Regions from separate parts of the Homo sapiens genome. Here all the other regions are linked to region 1. The links are contacts of gene promoters, found by promoter capture Hi-C in blood cells and fetal thymus (Javierre and others, 2016). All regions are on one chromosome and are shown on one strand. The core of a region is centred on a gene start or on the middle of the fragment in contact, and the rest is flanking DNA. Distances in the headings are between cores, read along the strand shown.

Evidence for each region. Contacts are between HindIII fragments. The CHiCAGO score rates a contact against its expected background, and 5 or more counts as called.
Region 2: a contact is called between a fragment that was not itself captured here and the fragment with the promoter of MEP1B in region 1, in 4 of 17 cell types (activated CD4 T cells, non-activated CD4 T cells, naive CD8 T cells and 1 more). The highest score is 8.7, in activated CD4 T cells.
Region 3: a contact is called between a fragment that was not itself captured here and the fragment with the promoter of MEP1B in region 1, in 1 of 17 cell types (total CD4 T cells). The highest score is 5.1, in total CD4 T cells.
Region 4: a fragment that was not itself captured here is called in contact with the fragment with the promoter of MEP1B in region 1 in 2 of 17 cell types (total CD4 T cells and naive CD8 T cells); the score reaches 5.1 in total CD4 T cells.

The regions. Positions count from the first base shown.
Region 1 is chr18:32,188,441-32,191,643 of GRCh38, reverse strand. MEP1B (meprin A subunit beta) reads right to left here and starts at 1,605. Exons shown (of 15, transcript NM_005925.3): 1 at 1,511-1,605. The coding sequence starts at 1,573. The HindIII fragment of the contact is 13,410 bases long and covers 1-3,203 here.
Region 2 is chr18:32,558,398-32,561,558 of GRCh38, reverse strand. No RefSeq gene overlaps it. Among named protein-coding and RNA genes, the nearest start is that of GAREM1, 89 kb to the right of the region's middle. The HindIII fragment of the contact is 4,086 bases long and covers 1-3,161 here.
Region 3 is chr18:32,537,225-32,540,882 of GRCh38, reverse strand. No RefSeq gene overlaps it. Among named protein-coding and RNA genes, the nearest start is that of GAREM1, 68 kb to the right of the region's middle. The HindIII fragment of the contact is 4,340 bases long and covers 1-3,653 here.
Region 4 is chr18:32,575,015-32,578,646 of GRCh38, reverse strand. No RefSeq gene overlaps it. Among named protein-coding and RNA genes, the nearest start is that of GAREM1, 110 kb to the right of the region's middle. The HindIII fragment of the contact is 1,756 bases long and covers 1,435-3,190 here.

The DNA.
Region 1 (3,203 bases), core at 356-2,855:
GGTCTTCTCATTTCATATGGAAAATGAAACTGCCTGTTAAATCAATTTGAAGGTGAAGGAAACAAGAAACCAACTTCAAAAATTGGGGGGGAAAAGGCAGAACATAAGACTCTAGCTCTCAAATAAGTGCTCACTTTACACACGATTTTCTAAAGCATTCATGGAGCAATGTTTGAAAAACCAAATAATTTATTCTCAATGTTGAAATAATACTGTAATTTATAACAATTCTTTAAAAAGAAATGTTATTCAAGACTCATTAATCAAGTTATTTTGCATTCATGTTTCTCCCAGAATAATTCTGCCTTCAAAGACAATACAAATATTTAAGAAAAACAATGGGTACATTTTGTGATTAATTTTTTTTCTGAAAATAGATTCTCCACAAATGGTCAATGAAACTCAGACTACATGTCCAAAGGAAAAAAAAAAAAAACAACTAAGTAAACCTGAGAAATGTCTTAGTGTGATTGAATTAAAAAGCTCATAGGACTGTCTGGGTTATGTTACCAGTTCTACTAACTAAGGGTAATTCAGTTCACCTTCCAGGTACTCAGACTATCCATAAGATATGGTCAGTACCTGCTTTGCATGGGTATTGTGAGGGTTACAGTATATAATGTGAAAGAAGGCTCATTGTAAGCTATAATAAATTGTCACAAAAGTGTAAAGTACAATTTTATTCAAATACAGCTTACATATCTAAATACTAGAATCATTTGGAGCGTTTAACAAAATGTGGGAATGAACTGGATGGATGGTTACCATCATTTTTGACATTAACAAGTGCTTTGCATGTTTCACACTATAACCACACACAGGCATACACTCATAGAGGAATGCCAGTGCACCTACAGAATAAAATTATCAAGGATTTATTCCTAATTACACTTTAACATGTATTCATCTGTATCTCTTGTTTGCAATGTTCTAGTTCCTATTCATAGAATATCACCCCAATATAATAATTGTTATTTTAAAATAACAACTGAAGGTTTTCCACTAGCCATTTGAAACTTCATTTAAAACCTTGGGTTGGTTTGTGATACAAACTACCTGATAGAAAAGATTAGTCCAAACTGTAGAAGGATGAGTCTAAACTGATGAAGAAGCATAAGAGAAATACCACGTTATAAAACTTTGTAAGTACTGACGGTGCCTGTGACACTCATTCATGTCTCAAGTTACTGTGCAGCAATCTGCATTTCATTCAGCAGTAAAAATGGAATGATTTTCAAAATACACATTTATAATCTCATCAAAAGAAAACTTGTTACACAATGATGAAACTGAAAGGAAAACATAACTTTATATCAATGTCTCTACTCTGGTGTGGCTATTTGTCACTCCCTACACACTGCCCACCCCTAATCTCCAAGAAGAAACACTCATTTGAGATCAACATTTCAAGATGTATAAAAAACAAACAAAAAAAAAACACTTGTTCTTTAACAATCAATATCAACTGCCCCAAAATTTTTAAATTATCTTCTATATACTGTTTCCTTACCAAGCCAGAAATCACGAGAAGAGCATCCAAGAACAGAAACCAAGACAGATTCCATAAATCCATGTTGTAGCTTCCAGTTGAAAGTAGCTAACTATGACATTCAGGGTTGAATTGACTTCTTTAAAGGCAAACATTATAATTTATAGCCTTTGATCTCAATGATCCATATTGCAGGTCAGCTTGATGCTGTAATAATACCTCCAATCAAGGGATGAAAGTCCAGTATTTTTAACACAGCTCTGCGGAGTTGGTTTGTTGGCTTTTTTTTTTTTTTCCTGTGTCAACAATTAAGTGCCTGGCTGAGACTTCTTAATGAATACATTCTCTAATGTATGTGTACTGGTCCTTAGACTAGTAAACACCACTTAAGCAAAAAATATATATATCAAATTAATTTTTAATCTTGATCTTATGAAACTCCTCCTCTCATATAGCCCCATGCTGCTTTAATATATCCAGTTATGTCCACTGCTTTTTATCATTCACTCATTTAATAAAAATTATTGAGTGCCTATAATTTATTGAGTTATAAAATCCATTAATGTGCTAGAAATCAGGCACACCGGTTATTCACATATAGAGTAGTAACATAGCAATGTATCTCATCCCTAAAAATTCCCATCAAGCAAACACTGGTGGGACATGGGTCATAAAAGTAGGAATGGTCACTGATTTTCTAATAAAATAATGTTCCCAATCCATCTCTTAATTCTTTCTCACTTTTTCCTTCTTTTCTTGGGATAATTTCTCTTTAGAAACAACCTGTTCTCTCAGTTCCCATGGCTTCATATTCAACTTACTTAAGATGCAGGATAATATTTTTTGAATACTAATTTTTGGCCATGGTGGCTCACATGTGTAATCCCAGCAGTTTGGGAGGTCAAGGTGGGTGGACCACCTGAGGTCGGGAGTTCAAGCCCAACCTGGCCAACACAGTGAAACCCCATCTCTACTAGAAATACAAAAATTAGCCAGGTGTGGTGGTGCATGTCTGTAATCCCAGCTACTTGAGAGGCTGAGGCAGGAGAATTACTTGAACCTGGGAGGCAGAGGTTGCGGTGAGCCGAGATCACACCACTGCACTCCAACCTGGGCAACAGAATGACACTCCATCTCAAAAAAAAAAAAAAAACCTAATTTTTTTCTAGTTTCCCCTTCCCCTCTCCAGCTTAGCCTTCACCCCATTTTGTGCTAATAGGAAGACTATCAAGAGACATGTAGCATAGACAAGGAGTTTGAGAGGTTGCTTCCTGAGTACAAGCCAGCACTTCCCACCCTATGAGGGTAGGATGAGAATTAAATGGGAAAACTGAAAACTGTAGTTATAGTCAGTTCTTCACTTGATCCCTGAGATCCCCTAGATATATTATAGGATCCAAAATCAAATGGTCCTGTTTCTTGGCTAGAGCTACAAGGAAGCAAAGGGACTCTACAGAAGAAGGCACATCTTGGGAAGAGGAGAATAACTCCTGGGGCCAAGGGAAGCATAGAAGTATCAGAAAAAGCTGTCATGCCTGAAGAGCCATGTGGATAGGAATAAGGATGTCTCCATTGCAGGCTGCACAGAATCACAAATAAGGACCAGACAGAGGGACTGATATTTTAGAGGATGCCTGTGAGGATAGATGACATCAGGGATCATAAGGGACCTTCCCAATGCATTGGGACTGTTAATTAAGGTTAGGCACAAGCC
Region 2 (3,161 bases), core at 455-2,954, 370 kb before region 1:
CCAGCTTTTATTCACTCACCAATTCCAGAACATCGAGATTTACATAGAAAATAACCTCAGCTGGGCACAGTGGCTCATGTCTATAATCATAATGCTTTGGAGGCTGAGGCAGGAGGATCACTTGAGGCCAGGAGTTTGAGACCAACCTGGAAAATAAAGCAAGACCCTGTCTCTACAAAAAATTTACCAGGCAAGGCGGTACACACCTGTGGTTCCAGCTACTCAGGAAGCTGCGTATTGCTTGAGCTTAGGAGGTAGAGGCTACAGTGAGACATGATTGCGCCACTGCACTCCAGCCTGGGCAACAGAACAAAACCTGGAGGAAGGAAGGAAGGAAGGAAGGAAGGAAGGGAGGAAGGAAGGGAGGGAGGCAGGGAAGGAGGGAGGGAGGGAGGGAGGGAGGGAGGCAGGGAGGCAGGCAGGCAGGCAGGCAGGCCAGGCGGGAGGGCGGGCCCATACTTTAGAACTTCTCCCCAGCCCAATTTCCCATAAAAGTTCACTGTTGGCAATGGAGTAAATGCTTCTAGGAATTGGCAGTAAGGCATGATTCGGGTTGCAGGGAGCAACATCAAAGCAAACAATAACAATACACACCTCAGGCTGGGCCAGTGGTTCATGCCTGTAATCCCAGCATTTTGAGAGGCCAAGGCAGTTCACTTGAGGCCAGGAGTTCGCAACCAGCCAGAGTAACATAGTGAGACTCTGTCTCCCTCAAAAATTAAAAAATTAGCTGGGCATGATGGCACATGCCTGTAGTCCCAGCTACACAGGAGGCTGAGGCAGGAGGATCACTTGAGCCCAGAAGGTCAAGGCTGCAGTGAGCTATGATTGTGCTACTGTACTCCAGCCTGGGCAACAGAGTGAGACTCTGCTTCCAAAAAAAACATATACACATTTCAGATATCCAACAAAGTGAGAAGATCCCTGAAAAAGACAAAGACTTTCTGAGGTGTACAGAGATATGGATAATTATTTTAAAAGTCAATTTTCATATCTTCAACTTTATTTGTACATCTTCCTAGAACTGACCTGCCTGAGAACCTGGGGGAGGATTAGCCTGTTTCTCTTTCATTCCTTCCCCTCCACAGCTGTTCCGTACTGTAGGGTTTCCACTTCAGGAATAAAAGACTCACCTGTCACACACTGTGAATTGAATTATGGTGTAAAAACTTCCAGGATGACACAGAATGGGACATTCCAAACACTGGTATAGGTGAAGCCTCCCTCAGTCATCATGTTCATTCTACTGGAGAATGGGGAGGCAGAAGTGAAGACTATTTCTTTTAACCTTACCTTTTCCACCCCTAATTATAGTCAAAGAATGAAGCACTTCTGAGAGAGGAGCCTGGGAAGGCAAAGCAACAAATGTGGGTAGAAATGGAAAGAGTGTCACTCTTATTCCATCCAGGTGACAACACCCAGCAAGATTCCAGGCCTTTTCTATGTATCTCACAATAGGAGATGTTTGTAAAAAACAAAACAGAGTGTGCTGAGAAACACCAATTTGCTGCAAAGCCAGTCTTTCTGCATTTTCACCGTTTTCAGTAATAACGGTTTAGCGTGAAGATCTATAGATGAGATACTTATTGCATCCTATTGTCTACCTTTTAGGCCCACCTTTGCATGCCAGCCAACCAACTGCATTCCGGGGTAACCTCATTATCACTCATCTTCTACCCCAGTGCCTTTCTGCTGCTGCCATGTGGGATGCCACATTTGATGTTTGCATAAACCTGGAAGTGGGGTAGAATTAATATCTCATGAGGTGACCCTTGACCAACAGTAACAAGACCCAAAGTCTAAATACTCCTCTAATACATCCCTCGGGTGGGCAATTTTGAGGCATATCTGACACGGTTCCTCAAAGGGTCCCTAAGAGAACTGAGCTGCAGTTGCCCACAGCGGTGACCCAACTCAATAACATTCCCCTTTGATTAGCTTTTCCTTCTTCTTTCTTTCAACCCTTCCTATCTCCCACTCCCATTCCTTGGGAATCACTTCTCAAAATAAGCCATCTGCATGCAACACCTTGTTTCAGGCTCTGCTGTTTGGGGGAACCCAGGCCAAGGTGTCTTCGTTACATATTTTGCATGATTTCAGAAGAAAGGGTCAAAATTTCCGTTATCACTTCTGTAGAAGGACAGTATAACTTTGAGTATAAAGAATATATGGTAATAGCTAAGTTAACGTGTTTTTTTAAATATTATTCACATAGGTAGAAGAAACATTTTATTAACCTTTGCCAAAGCATTATTAGATGCTATAGGCTGGGCGCGGTGGCTCATGCTTGTAATTCTGGCACTTTGGGAGGCTGAGGCAGGTGGATCACCTGAACTCAGGAGTTTGAGACCAGCCTGGCCAACATGGCAAGATCCCATCTCTACCAAAAATACAAAAATTAGCTGGGCGTGGTGGCACGTGCCTGTAATCCCAGCTACTCAGGAGGCTGAGGCAGGAGAATTGCTCGAACCCGGGAGGCAGAGGTTGCAGTGAGGCGAGATAGCACCACTGCACTCCAGCCTGGGCAACAAGAGTGAAACTCTGTCTCAAAAAAAAAATTTATTAGATGCTATAAACAGATATTCGTTTTTCATTCAGGCACAAGTCTCCCATTTGTCTGCATTTGTCAATTACTTCCATGCTTATATAATCCAGACTTTAGAGTTTAAGATTAAAATAAAAGGATTGTTATAGGTGTCTATCATAAGTCATGTACTGAGAGCAATATTTAATCCATCTTTTAATTTAGTGCATCTTTTAACTTAAAACATCTTTTATAAGCCCTATAATTAATAATGGTCTATAGTTTTTATGTCAATTTTTACAAAAATATAAACCTATAGTCTTAAAACAGAATATCCTCCTTTATGCAGTTGTCAGACAAAATGTTTCCATATCATATTCTAGTATATAACAAATTAAATCCTAGAAAACCAGCTTCATTGAATTAGAATTAGTTTCTCTTTTGAGGATTCAAATCTCTTCTAATTCTGTCAAATATATAATTGTAAAAATTTATTTTCCATTAAAACTTAATATTAGAATTTATATATAATAATTCTCAGGTGTCATGACTTTTAAAGACTTTTGAGATAACTTCCTAGATTAATTGAAATTTGGCATTAATATATAGATCTCTGCTCAGAAAAAAAATGGGTACA
Region 3 (3,658 bases), core at 234-2,733, 350 kb before region 1:
ATGGGGAGAGGAATGTGGTGAGTTGGGAGAGATGGGGAGTCACAAAGATTGACTACCTGGAATCCTAAAATAACTCTCTCAGAAGAAACTCTGCCCAAAATGCCCCATTTGGTTTAACACAAATAAACCTGCACCCCGACACCATCCAGCCAGCCTCCTTCCTGCCTGCATGCCTGCCTCTTCAGTATTTCTCAATGCTTTGAACTCTCATCAGTTGAATGTTTTGATGTATTTTACGAAACATTGGAGAGTCTTGATTGCTTATGACTCAACTAATCTTGTCCTAATGAAGACAAGGAAAATATTTTTCTTTAAAGAAAAATAAAGTGACCTAATTGTGTATCCATGGTAATTTTTATTTGAATATTATCTCTGGAGACAAAGGCAGAGGAGTCATTTTGGGTGTTTACAAATTATGTTATTTGCATAAGGATCTAATCTCACCTAGTTTATCTGGTTATTGATATGGGCATGGAAAACCAAACTGGAAAAGATAGATGATGGATGAATGTGGAAAATCCATTAAGTTAGATCCCACTAATTCAGAAATGGTGATATATCCAGCCTTGAGAAAACGTACCTCCCATTTATTTAAACAGTAGGCAAATTAATAATGTAAAAATAGTAGAAGAAAATACTGTTTGACCTACTAAAGCAAACAATACCTCACCTTACTCAGATATCAAGTACTATACATGTCTAAGTTTCAAATAGGAAACTCATAGCCTATTTTTCATGAACACGGTCATGAAATAAGCCAGTGGCAGACTTTTTCTTTTAAAATTTGGACCAATCTCTTATTTATAAAGTAAATAAAAGCGTAGCTAGAATGCTTTGTCAACTTAAAAGGACACTCTCAATTTACATACAAGATGTATGTTGCTATGTTCTAAAATTAAATTTGCATTTACCTACTAGTTATCTTATTTCTGGATCCTGGGACACTTTATCCCAAGAAACAGAGTCACTTTGTTCAGCAGACTCCAAAGTTCCCTGATCTTTGGTGAGATGACTGCAGAATAAAAGACTTAATGATTGTCTGGAACACTGGTTTTTATGTGTACATGGAGTATTTTCACAAAACAGGTGTCAAGATGATTCAGGGCGATTATATCTTCTGAGTAGGAGGAGAACAAGGAGAACAGAGATGTGACACTATCACATTCACATTCCTTGATCCATTTTCACATCTTAAATATTTTAAAAAGCTGGGAGATCATTTTCTTTTTGTTTTTTGTTTTGTTTTGTTTTTGAGATGTAGTCACCCAGGCTGGAGTGCAACGGCGCAACATTGGCTCATTGCAACCTCCACGTCCCAGCTTCAAGTGATTCTCCTGTCTCATCCTCCTGAGTAGCTGGGATTACAGGTGCCCGCCACCACACCTGGCTAATTTTTGTATTTTTAGTACAGACAGAGTTTCACCACGTGGGCCAGGCTGGTCTCGAACTCCTGACCTCAGGTGATCCACCACCTTGGCCTCCCAAAGTGCTGGGATTACAGGCATGAGCCATTGTGTCCGGCCAAAAGCTGGGAGATCATTGGTAAAACCTGTCACTCACTCTATCTAAATTCCACAGGAACCTACTGGCTTATTTAGACTTTGGAAGATATGTATGATAGCTACAAGTTCTCCCTGAAATACTTCAAATATGAAAAGTCAAGAAGGGAAGCCAAGGTCCTTCCTCTTTTCACAAAATTTGCCTTGACTCACTCACCTATGTTCATTGATTCATTGGTTCCATGAATACTTACTGGGTCCTATTACATATACAGTAATTAGAAAAAGTGAAGATTTAGATTCCCTTCCTCCTAAAGTATGTATAGTATGGAGGTTCTGGGGTTAGGGGTAGCACTTCGAGCAAGATTTGAATGGAAGTAAACATAAAACATTAAGAAAAATAGAAAAACAGGCACATTTTCTATCTCTTCTTAAAAGAAGAAGCAAAATTGAGTAGAAGGAGAGAAAAATCATTTCCTAGGAGGAGACTTGAGAAAGTATTTGGAGAATATGGTGGTAGTTGAGGTGGATTTGCAAAATTGTTTTCAGCATGACACGAAAGTGAACTGTCCAGGAGAGAGTAACTTGAGGAGCTAAGAAATTGACATGGAAAACTAAAAATATAGGGTGATGTTAAAATCATAACTTGGGATTTAGGTACATGAAAGGAAATATTAGCAAAGACTTTGGCAAGGTAGAATAGGCCATTTATTCAACAGACATTTGTCAAAAAGTCTGCTATGTACCAGACACTCTACTAAGCACTGGGAATAAAAAGTTGGTTAAAGACTTTTCTACCGATAGTAATCCCGTTAGACTAACAGCACTGGCGTCACCTGGGTCTTATTAGGAAGGAATCAGATCCCACTCAACATCTAATGAGTCAGAATATGCATTTTAACAAAATCCCTAGGTGATTCCTACCAACCTTAAGTTTAGGAACTACTGACGTAATACATTGTTCGTATTTAAGGAGCTTACAGATTATTGGAGGAGACAAGCAAACCTGTAAATGCAGTGTACTATGATAAATGCTGTGAGAGAAGATGGGGAAGCATGCTGAAAAGCAAGTCAAACAGGGGGAAATGTCAAAGGAGGGAGAAAAAGAATACAGTTGTGAACCTATATTACAAATGCAGCACAGCTGTGCCAGTATCGTCTAACTGAAGCCATTTACCAATTGATAGAACATTCATTTTATTTATTGTTTTTTTTTTTAGAGACAGGGTCTTGCTGTCACCTAAGCTGGAGTGCAATGGTGTGATCGTAGCTTACTGCAGCCTCCAACTACTGGGCTCAAGCAATCCTCCTGCCTCAGCCTTCCAGGTAGCTAGGACTACAGGCTAGCATCACCATGCCCAGCTAATTAAAACAATTTGTGTGTGGGGGTGAGGGGGTGGGGTTGGTAGAAATGAGGTCTCACTTTTCTGCCCAGGCTGGTCTCAAACTCCTGGACTCAAGTGGTCTTCCCAATTTGGCCTCCCAAAGTGCTGGGATTACAGGCATGAGCCACTGCACTCAGCCAATTTTTCTTGATTGCCTTTGTGTACCAAGTTCTATTAGTTCAATTATTTTATTTAATCCTTCACTTCCACTTGTTTGGTTCAAGGCACCATCATCTCTTGCTTACAGGATGTGTAAGCCTCAGCCTTAGCTGGCTGATAAATACCACCCATTCTCCTCCCCACTAGTGTATTTTGCTGTAGCCCGAACAATCTTTTCAAAACCTGAATCTAATTTTGCCATCCACCTGTTTAAAGCCTTCAATAGCTCCCTATTGCTTCACTCCTCAACATGCTTTATAAAGCTCCAGTGATCCCTCTCCCACTGCATCTCCCTCTCAGCACTCCTGAGTGCTCTCCATTCAACCAGACCTTTTTTCAGTCCTGTGTACTCTTTACACTGCCTCCTGCCATAGACAATCTAAACACGTCGCTCCCTCTGCTTAAACACGCTTCTGTTTTTCTCTTATCCACGCTAAGTCTGGGACATCCCTCAGATCTCCATGTAAAAAACTGTCCACAGGAGCAGCCTTGCCTGACCTCTCTGATGAGGTTACATCTCCCTGTTGGAGGATTGCTCGGTCACCCTTTTCATAACTGCAATGTTAATTACTTGTGGGATGAACTGACTGTCTCACCCACCAATTAAGCTTGAAC
Region 4 (3,632 bases), core at 1,063-3,562, 390 kb before region 1:
GCAAAATATGACGTTGAACATTTCCTATACAATCTTCTCTTCCTATGGCTGGCTTCATCTCAAAAGCTTTCAGTAGGTGCCTTATGACTCAAAGCCATAATAACACTTTGGTGACTGTCATTCCTAATTAAATCTAAATGGCTATTTTCTACTCCTTATCCACGTTTCGGTGTAGATACTACTTCTTCCAGGAAGCCTTTCTTGATCTCCCAACACCCCCATCCAAGTTAAGAGACTTTTCCAAGTATTCCCAGAGCCTCTGCCCTTCCACCGTCATAGAACTCACCTCACTGCATGATAATTACCTATCAGTCATCTGTTTCAACCATCAGAATGTTGGCCTCTGAGGACCACAACTATGTTTAGCATGTTTACTATTATCCGCTTAATGTTTGATTCAACATCTGTCACATATTGAGCACTCAATACTCCTTGAATAATCAAATCAACGCATGAATAAACAAGTAGGAATTGAGAGAGTCGCTGTCGATCAATCACCATTCCACAATTTATAAACATACAGTGAGTGCCAACTATGTTCCAGGAATAATGACAATGTTGACTTTGTATTTTAAAGGACAATAATTATAACCACTTTTTTCCTCTTACCAAAATGAAGTGGTATTGTATTGCTTAATCATTCAGAAGGTTGCTTTTTAACTAGTTAGTACATAGCAGTCAGTTTCAGCCTTCCCAAGATGGTCATCTTTGGAATGCCAAAAATGAAATGCTTAGAAAGACCATAGATCAAAATAAGCTGTAGCAGCCCCATGCAGAAAAGGCTACCCCTAGAGACCTGATAAAGGAGAGCCACAAATCAAGTGAGCTCTTTTTATTTACTCCTACAAAATTTATCACCATTAAAGCTTTTTGTTTGTTTAACACCCTTTATTGCCAGCATCTGTCATTAACGCAGTTCTTATCTGTTACATCTATTGTAAAGATCACTTAACCAGCAATTGAAACTTTGTATCAATATAACTGGAGACAAGGTATATAAAGTATAATAGTATAAAATGATCAGTGCCTAACACGAGGCAGGAGCTGGGAGACTTGAGTGTAGATGGGATTCAACAACTGAGTTTTACCATCCAGTAGAGGAGTATGGTTGTGAGGGGAAGAAAACAGAGCACCTGCTAACTAGAAAGTGGGAGGATATTTAGGATTGCAAGGATATTCTAAATGAGTTGATATTTTAGTATATCTGGGTCTGCAAGGAATGTGTCAATTAAGAGGGAACAATTGAAAATACAGAAAAGAGGGAGGAAGAAGGCCAGAGAATAGTCCAGGGGGCTCCAGAAAGACAGGAGAGAGGACATACCTAGAAAACATCTACCTGGGGAAAGTCAATGGAATCAGAGGAAGCTGACCAAGGAGCACTTCCTGGCAATGCTTAGAGTCTAGTCCTCCAGGGTACTACTTCTGATCCAAGCTTCATAGAACCCTGGGACCAAGGGATTCGTACAAGGGGTCCAGGAATTCAGAAGTGAGCTAAGCATTATAAGCTGACAAAATAAACACTTATTCCCAGCTGGACTATTTATTTAAAGTACATAGATGCTGTTGTGAATACTTCCATACAAACGCACTTAAAAGTGTAGTGAATCCATTCTAAGGCAGACATAAGGTGCTTCTCTTTTTTTAACTTTAAAAGGCATCCTTAATACTCTGAAAGAGTGGGAGTTTGGGTCTAGATAATGTGGAATCATTCATGATTCCCGAAATAGGGAATAACATGATCACTGCAGAGTTTTTTGAAAGATCCATGTGTCAGCAGTGGATCAGGTGAATTGAAATAGGGCAGAGAATCGAGGCAGGAAAGAGTCATACAAGCCAATCCAAAAAGCTCTGAACAACTCTCCGGAAGCATCTCACACCACCTATATACATCCTGTCTCTTCCTGACATTTCCTCTCGGCTTCCAAAAGAAAACAATGCTCCCAAGGATCCAATGTCGTTTAAAATAGCAAACCTGGTTTTTGTTTTGAATGCCCTCTTTTTCTGAAGATAGAATCAGCTCCAGCATCTGGACAAAACAATGGGATCTGTGGTTCAATCCGGCCACAGCTGTGCAGTCCTTTCTAAAGAGTGTGTCTGTCTTAACTTGATAGAATTCTGCTGGGAGAGCAGCAACAGCGGGCTCTGACTACTGCACTTGCAGCCCCCTAGTGGGGCCTCAGCGGTTCCAAGTTGTAATAAGATTAGCTGAGAACAAATGCAGATAAAATAGTAAAACCATAGTAGGTGAATATAAGAATGTCTTGAGATGTAATGAAGTATTTTCTATAAAAGTCCTATCATGGAAAAAAAATACAACAAACAATAACAGCAACAAAAGCTAAAGCTGATACAATGAGACTGAGTTTAAGAGAAACTGAACATGGAGACAGGAGGAATGCTGATAGAAAAATAAAGATTAAAAGAGCAACATCGTTTGCAAAATGGCTATATGTCGAAATGTAACTGACAAAACTGCCGTCCTAATGAGGGAGTAAGGGTCTTTTCCTTTTTTATTTTTATTATTATCTTTTTTTTTTTTTTTTTTTTTTGAGACGGAGTTTCACTCTTGTCGCCCAGGCTGGAGTGCAATGGCATGATCTCGGCTCATTGCAACCTCTGCCTCCCAGGTTCAAGCGATTCTCCTGCCTCAACCTCCCAAGTAGCTGGTATTACAGGCGCCTGCCACCACACCCAGCTAATTTTTGCATTTTTTGTAGAGACGGGGTTTCACCATGTTGGCCAGGATGGTCTCTATCTCCTGACCTTGTGATCTGCCCTGCTCAGCCTCCCAAAAGTGCTGGGACTACAGGCGTGAGCCACTGCGCCTGGCCAGGGTCTTTTCACAAAGGGCTGGCAGCACAGCCTGCAAGGCTGAGGATCACAGCCACAGCTTCACTGGGTCTCCACAGTCCACAGGGTTTTCTTCTGGTGGTGTCACCCTACTAGATTGACTGCTTGCTTAATTTGGAAACTTGGGGTTGGTTAGGGGAGGAAGAATCGTTGTTTTGTTTTGTTGTTTTTCTCTAGAATTTTACTATCTTTTCAAACACAACAGTAAAAACTAACTGGAATGGTGATGCTTAGACCTGTTGTGTCCTCTGTGCTAATTACTACCTTCCATACAGTCCTGTTGTGTCAAAATGCAAAGCACACTGGTAGCTGTTGGTGACTCACTGATAGTCACCAAGCTTGTGGACCCTCCAAGGAGCACAAACTGCTTGAAAGCCAGGGCTGTAGGTTGGCAAGTCACACCTAAGACTGTGGGACTAGTAAAGAAAGGCCATTAATCTCTTCATCCCTCTCATCACCCCACATCCTCCCACTGCACTCACCCTCCCTCCACTGCAAACTTAGGCTTCAGTTCAGGATCCTACTTTGTCCAAAGAGAGAGAAATCTATCCTACTCGAATATCCCATGCTCCCTTGTTGATTCACACCAATAAATAATTCTCACAGTCTGGAAAGTCTTCCTTATCTTCAGCCAAAACCTAGGGAGACTGTCACCCTATTTCTTCTTTTCTGTCCTCAGGGAAGATATATTAAAGCCATTCATTATCTTTTGTGTAAGAGCCCTTTGTGTCAAAGAAAAATTAGATTTGCTCCTGATCTTAGAGAAACCTCACATTTTACAG